4 separate regions of the Homo sapiens genome follow, and all the other regions are linked to region 2. The links are contacts of gene promoters, found by promoter capture Hi-C in human tissues and cell types (Jung and others, 2019). All regions are on one chromosome and are shown on one strand. Each heading gives the region's core, a stretch centred on a gene start or on the middle of the fragment in contact. The rest is flanking DNA. Distances are from core to core; before and after follow the strand shown. Region 1 overlaps CDH8 (cadherin 8). Region 2 holds the start of CDH8 (cadherin 8). Region 3 has its middle 110 kb from the start of CDH8. Region 4 overlaps CDH8 (cadherin 8).

Region 1 (2,709 bases), core at 111-2,610, 110 kb before region 2:
TTGCTTTAATTTAATGAATATTTTAGATATGAGGAAATAAACTCTTCCCTCTTTGAACTGTTGTGAATAATAAGTGAAATACTATATGTCACATATACAACATAAAGCTGGCATATTCAAGTTCCCTGACCAGAATATTGTCAGGTGAATATTGTCTCAGGTTATTATGAAGCCCTGGCAATCTAGATGGCTAGAGGATATATATATATATACATCACATGTATATATATTTAAATATATATAAATATATGTGATGTATATATGTGATAAATATATAATATTTAAATATATATTATATATGTGATGTATATATTTGTGTATATATTTAAATATATTATATATTTACTATATATATTTAAATATATACACATATATATCTCTTTAGAACAGGGTAAACTTCTGCAAGCATCAGAATCATGGGTATCAGAATCATAAGTAAAAACACAGATTACTGGGCCCTCTCTAGCAATTTTGGGATGGGACCAAAAAAAAACTTGGATTTCTAAGAAGTTCCTGGGTGATGCTAATATTGTTGATCCAGGCACCACACTATGAGGACCGCTGACTTCGAGATCAAAAAGTTATTCCTTTCTGTGGTTGTTGTTGTGTTGTTGTCGTTTTAATCCTGATACTCTAAGTGGGATGGTATTATTTGGCAATGCCACTTTTAATAAGTGGTTCGAAATGTTTCCATTAGGGAATAATCAATTTTAGGTTCCAAACATTTTTTGGGACTTTTGAACATTCACTTCTGAATACTAAAACACTTGATTATGTTGAAATATACACAACCCTTTAACAATTATTTATAATACTTCTACTGTGTGCACAGCCTATAGGTTCTCACGCATCATCTTGTTAGAGGCCATAGCAGATTCCCATTCTTCTTACAGAGTTAAATATCAGGCCAAAGTTACCTGCTCACCCAGATACACAGGTACATGGGATATTTAATAACAAAATTCCTTCCCCACCTCTGACCTCTACATTCACTACTGAAAGTTGTTGAAAATAATAAGCTTGCTAGACTTCATCAGTGTGTTCTCGTGTGAAGGTTAAAGAGCATCATACTCAAAAATTGCAGTCATGAATATACAGGATCTTGGTGATTGATGGAACAATATAATCAGAAGAAATGAATATTAGTTTCTGTTTTTTTTTTTAAAAGAAACACTTAAACTAAAAACCTTCTTATCCACGTAGTCATCTTTAGTTACTGCAATTCTAAAATTCAACCTTCTATTTTTGGCCTCTCCTCCTGTTTGGGCAGAATAAATCAATAAATAAAAACGGTTTAAATAAAGAGCTGTTAATTGTCCTGAGGAGGATTATTTGTAAGACACTCTTAATGTAGGATTTCCATAGAGTTGCTAATTGTTCCGTACTTTGAAATTCGTCGTTCTGAGAATGAGATGCAGTTGGTAATGTAAATATCAACCAGGTAGAGGGTGTTACTCTGTATTAGCATCCAGATTATTATTCAGTCATAATTAATACGCTCCTAAAATAAAGTGTTGACAGCACTCCTATTCAATCATATAGCATATGTTTATAGTCTCACACATTGAGGTACACACATAATTACAATATATGTGTGAGAAAAATTGCTGAGGCAGTCCAAGAAGCTGTGCTTACACTAATTGAAAACTGCCATTGTCCAATTAAAGCAGGTGAGACCACAGGGTGGCAACACTGTCAAAAGCCAATCAGACATGGCCACGCTGGTTAAATTACAAGACAAAATAAAATAAGAAGAGCAAACAAGATTTTGTTTTTCTTGTTGTGGTTGTTTTAATAGAACACTGAGAAGCTAATGGCAATCAAGATACTCATTGTTTCTCCTTACCCCAGTTAAGAATTAATCTCAATAAAATACTATATTATTACAGAAAATATTGAGTAGCTCAAAAGCACAAGGCTCACCTTTCACCAAAATTGATGCTATCAGAAGGAGGAGAAACATTATTTTTACTGTTAGAGATGTGACTTTGATGACTTTAGAGAAGCTAAAGGAGTGTGCTATTACAATTTGTTTTATTTCTATTTTTCTCCATTAGGCCTCATTAGGAAATAATTAATGCATCATGTGTAATTACAGAAGAATCACTCCACACTCATTTCAAAGCATCAAGCAACATGAATTTCAAGGGGAGTTTAAAGTAGGGTCACTCATCTGCAAGAGCACAATATACTACTCCTTTGAGGAAATGTATGTCATAAAATGTTAAATTCAAGACTCATAGTAAATATCCACTTACTCCATAAATGTTTTGACTTCTGAAGTATTTTTTTAGCAGGACACAACAAAGCAAAACAGAGTCTCTAACATTATTATTTCAAAGGTGACTCCAACCAGGATCAGGTCAGAAAGTAGCAGAGAAAAGAGGAAAAGATGGAGAAAGAAGAAAGCAATAAACGTATATTGAGAATCTACTATATACCATATACTGTTCAAATTGCTTTACATACATTACTTCATCCTTACTATACCTTCACAAGGTTGTTTCTTTTTTCTCATTTGATCAATGAGAAATCTGAGATTCAGAGTAGATAAGTAACCTGCTCCAAGCCACACAAACTAATAAGAAGCAGAATCATAAAATGTTGATTTGGGACTCAGAAGGGGTGTGTGTGTGTGTGTGTGTGTGTGTGTGTGTGTGTGTGTATACATTTACCTTACAAGTGGGAAAATAAAATCTATGTTCCAAA
Region 2 (2,700 bases), core at 184-2,683:
AACTTTGAGGATTCTGCCAGACTGGGTGGGGGAAGGCTCTGGTGTTTGGGAGGAATAAGCGGAGGAAATTGTGGATACCTGTTGGCATCAGCGTTGGCGGCAGCACGTTTTTTTACCGTTTCCCAGCCTTGGCTGGATCCTGGGAGAACCGGAGTAGGTCCCTTATGAACCTCTTACGTACTGGCAGAACCTAGGCAAGAGCCTTTTTCCCTCCGATCCTGCGAGGGGCGCGACCAGCCCCTCAAAGGTTCCCGGATGAGAAGCGGCCAGACCACAGAAAGCGCAGGTCTGGGCTCAGCTGTCCCTAGGAGAGCGGCTACGGAGTCCCCGGCTTAAGGGGGCCTCCGTGCACGCAATCTCGAGTTGCGGGGAGACACTGCCTGGGGGTCCTGCAGGGGTGCTGGGCAGCGTCTTGGCGAGGGCAGAGCCGCAGGGCGACTCCGGAGCCCGGCAAGTTTGTAGCGGGCACCGCACCTCCCAGAGCTGGAGCTGCCACTTGTGGGAAAGCCTCGCGCTGGGGCTTTCGCAGCTGAGCCTTGGCCCGCAGCCCTGCCGCGGGGGTCGCCCTCCCTCGCCTCGGAGATGAGGCGGTGCAGAAAACCAGCCATAGACCACTCGGGCCCCCTCGCCTCCTTTTTTCCCTGGCTTGCACCCTCCGCACAGCGGGCTGCAGGTGCTTCCCATTCACCGCACGGACCCCGCAGTGAAGGCGCGCGGCTGCAGCCGCGCCTGCCTGCGTTGGGAAGCGGCGAAATAGCCAAGTCGCCGCAGGGAAGGAAACCGGCAGGAAAACTGGAGGGGCACAGCCTGGAGCTTGCTACTCTCTAGGATCTGTTGTCAAAGCAGTTTGCAAAAACAGTCAGGCAAAACCTTGAGGCGTACGTACGTTATCACCCACGGATATCGCGAAAGACACAGCTTAGCCCAGAGCCTATGCTAAGAACCCTCATCCACCATCTGAGGGGCAGGAGGCGCGCAAGGTGTCCGAAGGGGCATGGGAATTCCTATAAGAAACGGTCCCTTCTGGATAGTCGGAACATAGAGGAAAACGGGGGTGGGTTAGGGGAACACTTACTCTTGTGGGGCCCTGCGCTGGCGAATGTCAAGCCTCCAGGTTCACAAATGGCTGGAGGTGCTCGGGGTTAGCTCCCGAGGGCGGCAAGCGCCGACCGGTCCTCGCTCGCTAGGCAGGCGCCTCCGGATTCCGTTCATGCCTCTCGGAGCTACAGGGCTTGGTGCGGAGACGCAGGGCGGGCGCGCTGGGCTCTGGGTGTCCGCAACCCAAAGTGCAGCTGGTGTCTTGACGCTACCGTCTATGCACAAGCCGGCGGCGGCGGCGGAGCTTGGAGGAGGCAGGGAGATTCCAAATAAATCCACTAATTCTGGGCTGAGCGCTCCGGCGTGCGAGCCCGCCTGCCTGCCAAATGTAACTGTGAAGTGATGTGGAAAAGTGAGCCGGGTGCCTCCCCTGACGGATCTCATTGGGCAGAGCGCAGAGGCAGGTCTACCACTTGGAAATTCATGTAAGCAGTCCCCCCTCCCCGCCCCCTCCCCGCCTTCCCCCTTCGCTCTCCCGCGCTGGCTCGATCGCTCTCTTTCCCCCTACCCAAGTGGGCGCACAACTTTTCGCTCCTCGCTCCCGAGCAAGCCCCGCGCGTCTCTGCCGCCAGAGCCACGAGGTGAAGATGCGCCCTTCCGCGCGGTGCGCGCAGCCCGCTGAGGACCGAGCTCCTGGATAAGTGGGCTGGCAGATAATAACAGCATGCGGATGAGGTACCTGCGAGCTTTCTCTCTAGAGGTCTCACCTGAGCTCTGGGGCTGGCGTTATGTTGAAAAGCGTCTCAGTGACCCGCAGCTATTTTCCGTAGGAGGAAGAGGACGCGACAGGGCAAAGGGTTGAGCGTGGGCAGCTTACCTCCTCTTTATTCCAAGGGCCTCTTGCGTACAGAATAGGGTGATTGTGAGACCCCTGCCTGCAACTCAGACGCTATGTAGAGGCTGTGTGTCGCGGTTCTGTGATGGAGCGCATTCCTGATGTCCCCGTGCTCCTTTGGGAAAATGGGATGAGGGACAGCAGAGTGGCAGCCAGGAGGGGCGCGCAGTAGTTGGTTGTGGGGAGGAGGGCAGGCAAAGCAGAACTTGCTTGGGAAATAGGGGAGGAATTTCTAGGTCTTCTCAATGTGCCCTGATCTTGTCATATCCTCTCAGATACCATCCTTGCGGTTCTCCTGCCTCCACCAAGACCTGCCCTGTCTGTGGTCACTTCAAGTCTTCTGATGGGCTGCGCTCAGATCTTGAGAAATGGCCACCCTGGGGTAAAAGGGACCATGAATCAGGAGGTCCAGATTTCTTTTCTTTTTCAACACTGGGGCTAACATGTAGACGATGCCACAGTCATCATCTTCTAATAAAATTAGATAAATATAAGACAAATAAATTCTTACCTTAAAAAAAAAAACCCTCCCCTCCACAGGAGATCCCGATTTAGTCCCTTCCCTGTGTGCACTAGACGTGAGCCTGAGGGTGGATTTTACCATCTGGGGACAGAGCAAGAACAGAAGGGGGAAAAAGGTGCAGGGGACAAGACGCACAGTCTGTAGAGCTTGTACTGTCTCACTCAAATTAATGAGAAAGAGTGAACAGAATGAGAAAATAGGCACAACATGCTTATGATATTTATGCAAATTTGACATTTTTTTG
Region 3 (2,700 bases), core at 116-2,615, 110 kb after region 2:
TTTATTTTATGCTCTGAGTGCGGGAACCTACAGAGAGCTACAAATTGAAAGAAACAAACATTTCAGAGAAAACAGACCTCCAGAGCTTTAGAAAGAGCAAGGAATTGACAATTTGAAGGGCTTCAAGTATGCCAAGTAGCCATCATAACTCACTCCACATTTCGAAAGGGAAAAAGCAAATCAAGATTTGAAAACTTTATAGTCTTTTGTTTAGTGAGAATGTGTTCATTGTGTGTTGGCTATAATTATTGTTAACATTCATTTTAAGAGCAACTTACTGATCTCTCACTGAAATTCCTCATTTATAATGAGAAAAAATATTTCAACTCAGCTTAATAAATGAGGATTGGCAGAATTAAGTGAGCTATCCAATATCTTAAGCTTGTCAGTGGCAGAGCTGGGATGGGAGCACTATTGTGCCTCAACACTTCTACCAAGACTTTTTGCACTATGCTCTACACTCTTGAAGGACATACGTTAAGAATAAATAACTATTGATGTTCGAAAGCAAAATTATGCCGTCATTCTTAGGGACAGTTTATTTGAGAGTCTGGTTTTATATAGAATCTGGGAATGTCAAAATTGAAAGGATGCTTAGAGGTCACATATTCATAGCTCTCAATTTCCTGAATTAGAAAACAATGTCTGGAGTGGAGAAAGCATTCAAATGCCACAGGGATTCTCTTTTTTCATCTCAAAATTACATGATTATTATTGTACTTTTTAAATTGAGAAGAAAGTTACTACACATCATGAGCAGAAATGAAATTTATAAGATGAACAACCAGAGATTCTACCAGTTCATGAATAAGGTGTGAGCCATCTGATCCAAGAGTTCTTTCTCTCTTCTTAGTTTAGTGTACTTTTAGCACAAAAGCATTGGTTCTGCTTGTTGCTTTTTTAATACTAGATTTTACCTACAATCTCATTATTGTATTTTTTAAGTGTAGTGCAGCTCTAACTTATTTAATTTTCTTTAAGCAAATAAACATAGTTTAAGATGGCTTACAGACATTCATATATCTTACAAAGATATCCTAAATGATCTAGAGTGGTAAGAAATACAAGGCAAAAGGAAAATCAAAGTTTATTTTTTGTAAAATCATTCTTCTGAGTGTTGTACTTTGTTACTTTTCTTTGCCTTTTATAATGCATTTACACTTCTTATATAAGCTATTGGATGTATATTTTAAGCTACTGTATAATCATTCAACTTTTCAATCATAATTTTCTGAAATTTCACCGTTTTAAACAAAAAGATGATTCATGCTATTATTTATAAATTTTACTGTATTTCATCTTTAAAAAAAATAACACACAATGGTAATAATACCATTCTTGAAGCAAATGATTGAATGTGCTAATAATAGTAATAGTAAAAAGAATAGATTTCATAGACTCAATTTTCTAGAACTAGTGATGAAGATTATTAATCATGATTAAGCAATGAATACTCACAATAATGCATAATTTAGAGTCCTGGTCTTTGCGATTTTAAGTTGCTCAAAAGTGCTCAAGAACATAGGTAAAATTCCTGGAAACAGAATTCCTGGAAATAAAAATAATATCCATCCAGCCATCCTTTTTTCCTGAAAATGAAATTTTTCATAAAACATATAAACTAGATGTTGTCTTTTTGTAAATATTTTAGCAACATGTATGTATGTTAGATTGGAAAATAGAGTTCCATTTGCTGAGTGAAGACCTCGGAAAGAAAAGGAAAGTATGATCAGTGGATATTTAGTGACCTAAAGAAAAGAGTGATCAATTGCTTCAGGAAAATAAAGAATACTCTCATATTTTCTCCATGTTCTTTTCATGGTAGCTTGGTGTAGTATCAATAGTATAGATTTGGCATCAGGCAGAACTGAGTATGCTAAGTGACACACTAGCATTCTTCCTGTTCCAGGAACATGCCAAGCTTGTCCCTGCCTCTGGGTCTTGCGCTTGGCAGTGGCTCTATTTTGAATGTGATTCCCTGTGACCTTTTCAAGCTTGACTCATTACTATGAAAAGTTCTGCTTAAATATTCTCCCTTTGTAGAGCTCTTACTGAACGAACCTCTCTGAGGTAGACTTCTATGATGGTTGATATTAAGTGTCAACTTGATTGGATTGAAGGAGGCAAAGTATTGTTTCTGGGTGTGTCTGTGAGGGTGTTGCCAGAGGAGATTAACATTTGAGTCAGTGGACTGGGAGAGGAAGACCCACCCTCAATGAGGGTGGACTCAGTCCAATTGGCTGCCAGCATGGCTTCAAAACCTGGCAGAAGAAGGTGGAATAAGCTGGCTTGCTGTGTCTTCCGGTTTTCATCTTTCTCCGTGCTGGATACTTCCTGCCCTTGAATATCGGACTCCAGGTTCTTTGGCCTTTGGACTCTTGGACTCAAACCAGTGGTTTGCCAGGGGCGCTAGGGCCTTTGGCCACAGGCTGAAGGCTGCACTGTTGGCTTCCCTACTTTTGAGGCATTGGGAGTTGGACTGAGCCACTGTTGGCTGTCTTGCCTTCAGCTTGCAGGGATCACCATGTGATTGTGTGAGACAATTCAACTTAACAAACTCCTTTTCAGGTATACATATATCTCATTAGGTCTGTCCCTCTGGAGAGCCCTGACTAATACAACTTCCTACATACTTTGTATCAGTCAACCCTGTAAATTTCCATTGCCTCCATAACATAAAATTAGAGAAATACCGGCAAA
Region 4 (2,700 bases), core at 89-2,588, 68 kb before region 2:
CAAAACCCCCTCTCTAGAAGAAAAAAAAATAGCCAAGTGTGGTGGCACACACTTGTGGTCTCAGCTACTCAGGAGGCTGGGACGGGAAGATCCCTTGAGCCCAGGAGTCCGAGGCTGCAGTAAGATATGGCTGTGCCACTGCACTCCAGATAGGGGAATAGAGTAAGATCCTGTCCCTAAAAAATAAAGAGAAGAGGAATGGCCATCTTAGAAGAGATAAAATACTAGTTAAGTCATACAGTTTGTAAAAGGTAGACATGCCAACATATCCCATGTATGGATGATTGCAAATAGTGTGTAGGTTTTATTTCTCTCTTTCCAGTACCACCACATTTCCTCCCAATGTGTTAATGCCGATAATTAGTAACCAAGTGAAAAATCTCATGCTGGGATTAAAATATTCTTATTGCAGGTTGAGTGTCCCTTATCTGAAATGCTTAGCACCAGGAGGATTTGGGATTTCTTTATAAATAATTTGGAATATTTGCATATACATACAGAGCTATCTTGGGGATGGAAACAAAGTCTAAACAGGAAATTCATTTATGTTTCATGTACATCATATACATGTAGCCAGAAGACAATTTTATACAAGATTTTAAATAATTTTTGATGAAACAGAGTTGTGACTGTGACTGAGGTCAGGGGTGGAATTTTCCACTTATGGCATTATGTCCTCTCTCAAAGTTTCAGATTTTGAAGGCTTTTGGATTTGGGATTTTCAGATTAGGGATGCTCAATCTGTACTTATACGACAGTTGAATTTAAATTGAGATTATTTATTTATTTATTTATTTCGTTTGAGACGGAGTTTCGCTCTTGTTACCCAGGCTGGAGTGCAATGGCATGATCTTGGCTCATAGCAACCTCCGCCTCCTGGGTTCAAGCAATTCTCCTGCCTCGGCCTCCCTAGTAGCTGGGATTACAGGCGCCCGCCACCACGCCCAGCTAATTTTTTGTATTTTTAGTGGAGACAGGGTTTCACCCTGTTGGCCAGGCTGGTCTCGAACTCCTGACCTTGGGCGATCCACCCGCTTTGGCCTCCCAAAGAGCTGGGATTACATAAGCAACCGGGCTGGGCCTAGAGATCATTATTTTAAGAACAATGGTTCTTTAACTGGAATCAGGGTTACCTGGAGGGTAGTTTTATGCAAATTCCTGTGATCCACTTCCAAAAAATTACAAATGAATAGAAATTTATGCACATGACTCAAAAACTACTCTGTGAGAAAGAATGAAACAGGTTAAGTATCTGAAGGTTTTTCCTCCTCCTTTCATTCACCCTCGTCTATTGAGTGATGTGTCAAGTTTTTCCCACTCTTTCACTGCAATCTTACAGCTTAGGTAATTATGCCCATTCTAAAGGTGATAAAGGTTCTCTCAAAAGCTGTGAGACCTAGGACAGGTAAAGGGCACAATGGTGAGTCAAATCCAGTGTTACCTGGCTGCAATCACAATCCTCTCCATCTCCAAGTCTTTATCCTCCCTTCCCTTGTAAGCAGAGTATAAAATAACACTATCAAATAAGCAGAATCGATGAAAGAAAAGCCTAGCTTTTAGTATAAAAACTACCATTTAACATTATCTGAATAGACTTTCTGCAGCTTAATTTAATAAATGAGGCATCGTTTTTTAGACTCCAAGCATAATAAACTCTCATTTGCATTGACTGGATTCATAAATTCATGCTGTTAAAAACCTGTTTCTGTCAGGGTTGGCCCAGGCCCCCACAGCTTTCACTCACATTCCAATTCTAAGCGGCAGGAGGGAGTTTGCCGATCACAAGCATCAGCTATCATTAGTTCATTTCCTTTAGTGCTGCTTGAGAAAGCGGCGTGAAGCCTGACAAGGTGCAGGCAGCTCATCTAAAACAAGTTCTCCACTGCTCCCAGAAAGGGTGAGGACATCTCCCAATTTCCCTTTACTGCATATGGATTATTTTTTCTTGGCAAAAGACCATAGCAGAATGCTCAGAGTCCAAGATTCTTGAGATGCACAGATCTAGGGTTTGGATTTACACAAAAAGGAACTGAAATAAAACCTTCTCAGTCAGAGCTTCATGTTTAAGGAGAAACAGAAATAAAAGCGATGGTGTTGGTATGTGTTAAAAAGCCCTATCTCTTTCCCCTTATATGGGCAATAATGATCTGAATGACTCAAAACAAATAGAACTCCCGGTTCTCAGAGTAAGTGCTGTGGAGTGAGGATGGGCATCTGACAGTGAGAATTCTCAGAACTTCGGGAACATAACCAGAAACAAGCACAGAAAACCACTTCAGAAAGCTAACTCCAATGGCAGACCCATCATTGAACGGATTCAGTGTAGATTGAATCTTCCCTTTCTGAATCTTTCTTGGCACGTAGCTGGTTTCTTGAATAGTGCTTACATTTTATTTTGAAATCCATGACAGAATATCCAGAGTGCAGAGAAGCCCTACATGGGCTTATCTATGGAATGTATTAAATAACTTCCGATGCCTCTCCCAGCTCTAACAGACTATTTCGGTCAGTATCAGACAATCATCCAAATATGATCATTTATCTATATAAAGAGATATTAGATATTATATTATTTGCCAATGCATTTCATTCATCAATTTAACAAAGATTTACTGACCATCTGATAGATTCACTGTGTACTGGACAACCGGTGGAATAAGATGTGTATAGTCTCATTCCTGATCCCCTTACTAAATATTG

The links. The method cuts DNA at HindIII sites, captures the fragments that hold promoters and counts their contacts. A contact is called where the count stands out against the background at its distance.
Region 1: a fragment that was not itself captured here is called in contact with the fragment with the promoter of CDH8 in region 2 in 3 of the 25 tissues and cell types used here (dorsolateral prefrontal cortex, hippocampus and mesendoderm cells).
Region 3: a fragment that was not itself captured here is called in contact with the fragment with the promoter of CDH8 in region 2 in 2 of the 25 tissues and cell types used here (bladder and spleen).
Region 4: a contact is called between a fragment that was not itself captured here and the fragment with the promoter of CDH8 in region 2, in 3 of the 25 tissues and cell types used here (dorsolateral prefrontal cortex, spleen and stomach).

The regions. Positions count from the first base shown.
Region 1 is chr16:61,923,528-61,926,236 of GRCh38, forward strand. All of the region lies in intron 2 of CDH8 (cadherin 8), which reads right to left. The region is part of intron 1 of CDH8-AS1 (CDH8 antisense RNA 1); the gene reads left to right. Among named protein-coding and RNA genes, the nearest start is that of CDH8-AS1, 6.6 kb to the left of the region's middle. The HindIII fragment of the contact is 3,202 bases long and covers 1-2,709 here.
Region 2 is chr16:62,035,005-62,037,704 of GRCh38, forward strand. CDH8 (cadherin 8) reads right to left here and starts at 1,434. Exons shown (of 12, transcript NM_001796.5): 1 at 1,076-1,434. LOC124903777 (a long non-coding RNA gene) reads left to right here and starts at 1,586. Exons shown (of 2, transcript XR_007065217.1): 1 at 1,586-1,773; 2 at 2,209-2,429. The HindIII fragment of the contact is 11,196 bases long and covers 1-2,700 here.
Region 3 is chr16:62,143,020-62,145,719 of GRCh38, forward strand. No RefSeq gene overlaps it. Among named protein-coding and RNA genes, the nearest start is that of CDH8, 110 kb to the left of the region's middle. The HindIII fragment of the contact is 3,741 bases long and covers 1-2,700 here.
Region 4 is chr16:61,967,024-61,969,723 of GRCh38, forward strand. All of the region lies in intron 2 of CDH8 (cadherin 8), which reads right to left. Among named protein-coding and RNA genes, the nearest start is that of CDH8-AS1, 50 kb to the left of the region's middle. RefSeq lists an enhancer at 1,483-2,000. The HindIII fragment of the contact is 7,820 bases long and covers 1-2,700 here.